Regions from separate parts of the Homo sapiens genome. Here region 1 is linked to region 2. Evidence: promoter capture Hi-C in 16 types of primary human blood cells and fetal thymus (Javierre and others, 2016). All regions are on one chromosome and are shown on one strand. The core of a region is centred on a gene start or on the middle of the fragment in contact, and the rest is flanking DNA. Distances in the headings are between cores, read along the strand shown. Region 1 holds the start of CHST6 (carbohydrate sulfotransferase 6). Region 2 has its middle 20 kb from the start of MON1B.

Region 1 (2,711 bases), core at 62-2,561, 1.7 Mb after region 2:
CTTGCCAAACCACAACCAGGAAGGACTGCTTATTTCTTCTCCCAGCAGCAGGGAGTTCTTGATTAAGATCCCATCACTAATTTGACAAGACCTAGAAATGCTTCATCCTTTTCAGGTGCCTGGGCTCTGCCCTGTTATTTGTAAAGGGGATTTTTTTTTTTTTTTTTTTTGAAACAGTTTCGCTCTGTCGCCCAGGCTGGAGTGCAGTGGTGCAATCTCAGCTCACTGCAACCTCCGCTTCCTGGGCTCAAGCAGTTCTCCTGCCTTAGCCTCCTGAGTAGCTAGGATTACAGGTGCCTGCCACCACGCCCGGCTAATTTTTGTATTTTTAGTAGAGACGGGGTTTCACCCTGTTGGCCAGGCTGGTCTCGAACTCCTGACCTCGTGATCCACCCACTACGGCCCCCCAAAGTGCTGGGATTACAGGCGTGAGACACCGCGCCTGGCCGGATTTTTTTTTTTTTTTTTTGCGAGGGAGTCTCGCTTTGTCGCCCAGGCTGGAGTGCAGTGGTGCGATCTCGGCTCACTGCAAGCTCCGCCTCCCGGGTTCACGCCATTCTCCTGCCTCAGCCTCCCGAGTAGCTGGGACTACAGGTGCCCGCCACCAGGCCTGGCTAATTTTTTTGTATTTTTAGTAGAGACGGGGTTTCACTGTGTTAGCCAGGATGATTTCGATCTCCTGACCTCGTGATCCGCCCGCCTCGGCCTCCCAAAGTGCTGGGATTACAGGCGTGAGCCACCGCGCCCAGCCCTGGCCGGAAATATCTTATTTATTGAAACGTATCATGTCTTTATCTGGACCTGCTATGAACCTGCGCCTCTGGGCCTAGGCTAGGGCAGGGAATGCGCAGGAGGAGGGGAAAAGCTGCGGACCCAGCTCCTAAGGCCACCTGGTCTCTCCGCTCTTCCCAGTTGGGACACTGCACCGGGTCCATGTGTCATCCAGGTGCCGTGGCCTTGGGAAGGGTTTGGATTCCAAGTCACCTCGCCGCAAGGATGCCCCCGAGAGTGAGGAGGGTCAAGATTAAGATTCGACTTCCTTCACTAGGGCCTTTGTCCTCCCAGGAGCCCCCCTTCTCTGGGGATTTGGGGTGGGGTGGGGTACAACGTTCCTCTGTAGTCAGATGAGAGGTGACTCTGCCAGCGCCCTTTGACATTCTGGGCTAAAAGTTGAGCCTCTCAGAGCCCCAGCCCACCTGGGCCCTCCTGCCCCGCCCTCGGCCGGCGCCCCTCCCCCGAGGCGTGGCCCCTCGGTCGGGGGTGGGCCAACCGGCTCCTTCCTTCCCCCACGGCGCTAGCTCCCGCTGGCCACCTCGGGACCGCAGCCACGTCTGAAAGCGCCTCATTGTGTGCGCTCGGGCGGGCTGCACCGGGCAGCGCCGAGGGTTGCCGGCCGGCGCGCGGGGAGTAGAGGGCGCGGGCCGCAGTGCCGGGTTCCAGAGGGAGCTCTGCGCCGGGTCCTTCCCTGTGGTAGCCCCAGGACACCCCCAGCCTCAACATCCCATTCTGGGACTCCTGCCCTGTTCCCACATTCGTTCTACCTCGAGTCTCCAGGAGCTTCCAGTGGCTTGGTCACCGCCAACTCTCGTCCATGCCTCTTAGAGCCCCTTTCCCGGCCTCACCGGGTGTCGCTTAATAGTCTTGGGACCTTAAGGAGCAAGTCAGCCCCTGCGGACCCTCCCAGTGAAGAGAAAGAGCTGGCTGTGCGGTGGAATTTGGAAGAGACGACGTTTGGGAGCCTTTGCTGAGTCCAGGGAGAGAGGCGTCCCCCACCGTGCCGCTGCAGCTCGGGCAGAGCCGCCAAGCTTTGGGGTACGTTGGTTCTTCATTCTCCGCGGGGGATGTCCCCACACTCGGGTCGGCTGGGGGCCGGGCTGGTGGCACAGCTGGGGACGCTCCTCTGTCCTGCACCGGGGACCTGGGGTGGCGGGAAGAGCTGGGAGTGGCTTTTCCATCAGCAACGTGGAAAGGGCATCGCCGCTGTTGGCGCCGGTTTGGAAGTGTCTTGCTGGGGCTTCGGCTGCGCAGGAGAATCCTCACTGCGAGGGGAGAACCCCTTTTGTCTCGATACTTGAGTTTCAAAGGACATGACTTTCAAAAGCTCTCCAAGGGCTTTTTCCATAGAATTATTGAGAGACGGTAGCTTGGCGGGTTGATTTGGAACCAGACCCAGGGGAATTGGAGTCCTGCGTCACTGCTTCTGACGGCTTCATCTTGGGCTTCAGGACAGGCCCTCTGGGCCTCAGGACAGGTGCCTAGCAAATGTTGACTTTCCTTTCTCCTCCCTTTTTCACAGAGGCAAGGCAGTCAAGTTTCCCATTTTTGAGGATGGGAAAACTGAGGCCTGAAGAGCAGAAAGGAGTTGGCTGACTTAAACCCACAAGCGAGTAGGCCAAGTACCAGGGCCTCTGAGGGTGCTATGCTGCTCCGGGAGCTGGGGCTGGGCTCCTCTCCAGCCTGAGAGGCCGGAACTTTTCTGGCTTTGTTCTACAAACAGAGTCAACTGGAGTATAGAGAGCCAGAGAGTGACTTGCTCTAAGTCACACCCCTCACTGGTAGTAGAGACAGGATTTGAACCCAATCCGGCTTCAGAAGCCAAGCTTCTAAGGCCAGTCGCAGTGGTTCACGCCTGTAATCCCAGCACTTTGGGAGGCCGAGGCAGGTGGATCACCTGAGGTCAGGAGTTCAAGACCAGCCTGGCCAACATGGTG
Region 2 (3,092 bases), core at 468-2,967:
TGATTTATCTTATAGATGAGAAAACAGGTTGGGGAAGGAAAAGAGACTTAGCTGGCAGCCACCCAGAGAATCAGTGGCTCAGCTAGTGCTATTCTAACAACTTATCCTAGCTTTGTGCCTCCCTGAGGACTAGGACCTTTGCTTTTATTCCAATTTCAGAGGCAATTTTAGGGGAACTCCCTGAAAAGTGTAAACTGAAAAAGATGCCTGGGAGCCTGGGAGTTTCCTATGTAGTGCTCTAGGTGGGAAACCTTTGCTCACATAAAGATGACTGTCTTTATCAAAGGTGGCCACTAGATGGCAGAAAAAACCCATGTACCTGATATGGAAGCATATGTTCCAAAGATTTTGAGACTTGAGTATTTCTGAGACCAGCTCATCTGCCTGGTGAATATAGAAAATTAGGGATCATTGTGATATCAGTCCACCCCCATGTAAATCCCCCAAATCTGTACCTCTCTCCAGAGTCCTGTGGTTAATCTCATCCTTCTCGTCATTAAAACCCATAAAGGAAACAATTTACTTTGAAAACTATTTTATAAAAAGCTTGAATGACTATTAAGTAGCATTTTATGGTTTCTACTAGGATTTTCTGCATAACAATAGAAATTATTTGACAACTCAAAGTGTGAATGAATCTCTGGTGGCCAGAGTGGTGTATGAAATAATTTTGGATAAGGGAGAATTCATCTGCCTCTGAAATCAAGTCAATGGGGAAAGCCAGGTACTTCCAGTAATAAAAAGAGCTGATATTTACTCAGCACTTTACCATGTGCCAGGCACTGTGCTAAGCACTTTATAGAATAAATTTATTTAATCATCACAATAATTATATGATGCAATGCTCAGTAAATCTGTTTTACAGAAAAGTACACAGATCTCCACAGAGTTCACGTAACTTGCTCAAGGTCATATGGTTAGAAAAATGCTCGTGGCTATTTTCTTTTTATTTATTTATACTACATGGAATTAAAAATATGGTGCTTTGTGTTAGTATAATAAGGGTTTTATGAATTCAGATGAAAAGTAATTGCTCTCTTGACCCTGTGACACGTGTGCTAAAAACCTTCTCATTATTAGACCATTAGAAAGAGTAGATATGGTAAAAAATTTTAGCTGTGTTACAGTAACTGTGACCATAAATTAATGCTTAAGGAAACACTGTGACGATAGCTAGGACGATGTCAGCAGAATATTCTAAACCAGCACTATCCTGCTAGCTCCAGATCACGTGACCCTCTGTAGTGCCATGGGGTGGCTAAACCCATGTCCTAGGGGCTTCAAGGGATCCAAGGCTATCCTCCACCCCCTCCACAGGCAAAACATCACCCACATTCTTCCAATCTGATGTCTTTTTCTGCTGGCATAACTTGATGTTCAAGAGCTTCCTGCAGCAGCTCAGCATCCCTGGGGAGGAATGAGCTTTGTCAGTGCTGGGATGTCTGTGTCAGGGTCCTGTGCCCAGAGAACAGCCTCCCCACTCACTGGCCCATCTCCTAAAACCCACTATGGTGGTCAGGATTCTTGGTTGAAAGTAGGAGAAACCAATCCCAGTCATCTCGTTGAAAAAGTGGCTATGAAATCAGTTAAAGTTAAGTCATGGCGGGCATGATGGAAAATGGCTGAACTCCAGGAAAAATGGAAGCAGAAACTGGAAAGAAAGATTCTGAAAACTCTTTTTCTCTGACACCCAACCCCTGCCTATACTTCTCTCCATGCATCATTATTCTTGTTTCTTTGCCCACAACTTTTCCTGCTTCTTAGTAAAATTCCTGGCCATCCACAGCTCTAAAAATTCCCAGCCATCCACAGCTCTAAAAATTCCCATTAGGTATTCTGCCACACAAGAAAATCTGACTTGGCCCCCATTCCAGGTTCCTCAGGAAAATATATTGCTAGGCTTAGTTCTGGGGCAATGTTATGCAAAGACCTTAATTTTTCTTTATCTCAGGCCATGCATGATTTAGAAGTTTTTTGTTTTGTTTTTCTGTTGTAATGGGGCTGTTCTTGCTTTCTTTAGATAAGGCTGTATCAGCTCTTTATAACCTGCTAATTTCAAGGGACTTAATACGTTGGCTGTAATTCACATTTTCAAAATTGGGAAAAGCTGTGTCTTTTGAGATAGAAGTGTTCTTTTTCTTTTAATTCCTGTTTTGCTTTATTTTTTTTCCTCCCCAAATATTGGCATACTATTTTTTCAGGTGTCACATAGCTCTTTGACAACAGAGATTACTCAGTTTTTTTTAAATGAACATTATCTCCAGCTTCTCAGCTGCGAGAAGTTTTTTAGTTTTGCAATTTTTAGGGGTGCTGAGAGCCTCCTACCCGATGTGCCCTCAGTCTGAATCACTGATGCTCTCCTGGGTACTAGGGATTCTTGATTCTGTACTGCAGGGGGCGCTAGCACTCCTCCTTTCTCTAAGCCTGTGAGCAGGTAAATCTGCTGGTGAAACTGACAAGTGGTCACCATATATATTTGGCCTCAGCTACGTGTTTTTACTGCCCTTTCTTCCTTGTATGCCCACCCAAGCATGATGGGAGGTTGACCTGTGACACTTGTCTGGTGTCCTGGTAATTGATAAACGGAACCCAGAAGCAGGTATCAGAGACCAAACGACTAGGGTCAAACCCTAGACCCCTAGAGAAGTCTCCAAGTTCTCTGTGCTGCCTCAATCATCATCCAATTCTTATTTCCTGCCAAGCCTATATGAACAGAAGATTAGAAAGAAGGATCAGGGTGTGATGTGGCTCTTCCCACTGTGAAAAGCCCATACTTCAACCTTTTAGAGATTTTCCAGGACCATCTTTTATGATGGATGAGTGCTTCAGAAGGACAGATAGGCAATCTCTTTTGCTGGCTGGATGTGTCTGCTTATATAGGAAGCTTGAAGAGTGGGAAAGAGAATTTGACATAGGCAGGAGGAAGGAAGGAAGACAGAGTGCTGTGGCAACCTGGTAATTTTGGAGGGACAAGGTCGTGAGTGTCTCATGAATCAAAAAGAGTCTACTGAACAATTAGGTGGTCTTGAGTATTTTGCTGGTTTTGTCTTATAAATATCATTAATTATTATAAACTCCCTTTCCCATACCAT

The links. Contacts are between HindIII fragments. The CHiCAGO score rates a contact against its expected background, and 5 or more counts as called.
Region 1: the fragment with the promoter of CHST6 here is called in contact with a fragment that was not itself captured in region 2 in 1 of 17 cell types (total CD8 T cells); the score reaches 5.1 in total CD8 T cells.

The regions. Positions count from the first base shown.
Region 1 is chr16:75,494,041-75,496,751 of GRCh38, reverse strand. It overlaps CHST6 (carbohydrate sulfotransferase 6), which reads left to right and starts at 1,311. Exons shown (of 3, transcript NM_021615.5): 1 at 1,311-1,812. RefSeq lists a silencer at 1,108-1,437 and an enhancer at 1,738-1,917. The HindIII fragment of the contact is 1,836 bases long and covers 1-1,807 here.
Region 2 is chr16:77,169,145-77,172,236 of GRCh38, reverse strand. No RefSeq gene overlaps it. Among named protein-coding and RNA genes, the nearest start is that of MON1B, 20 kb to the left of the region's middle. The HindIII fragment of the contact is 2,338 bases long and covers 549-2,886 here.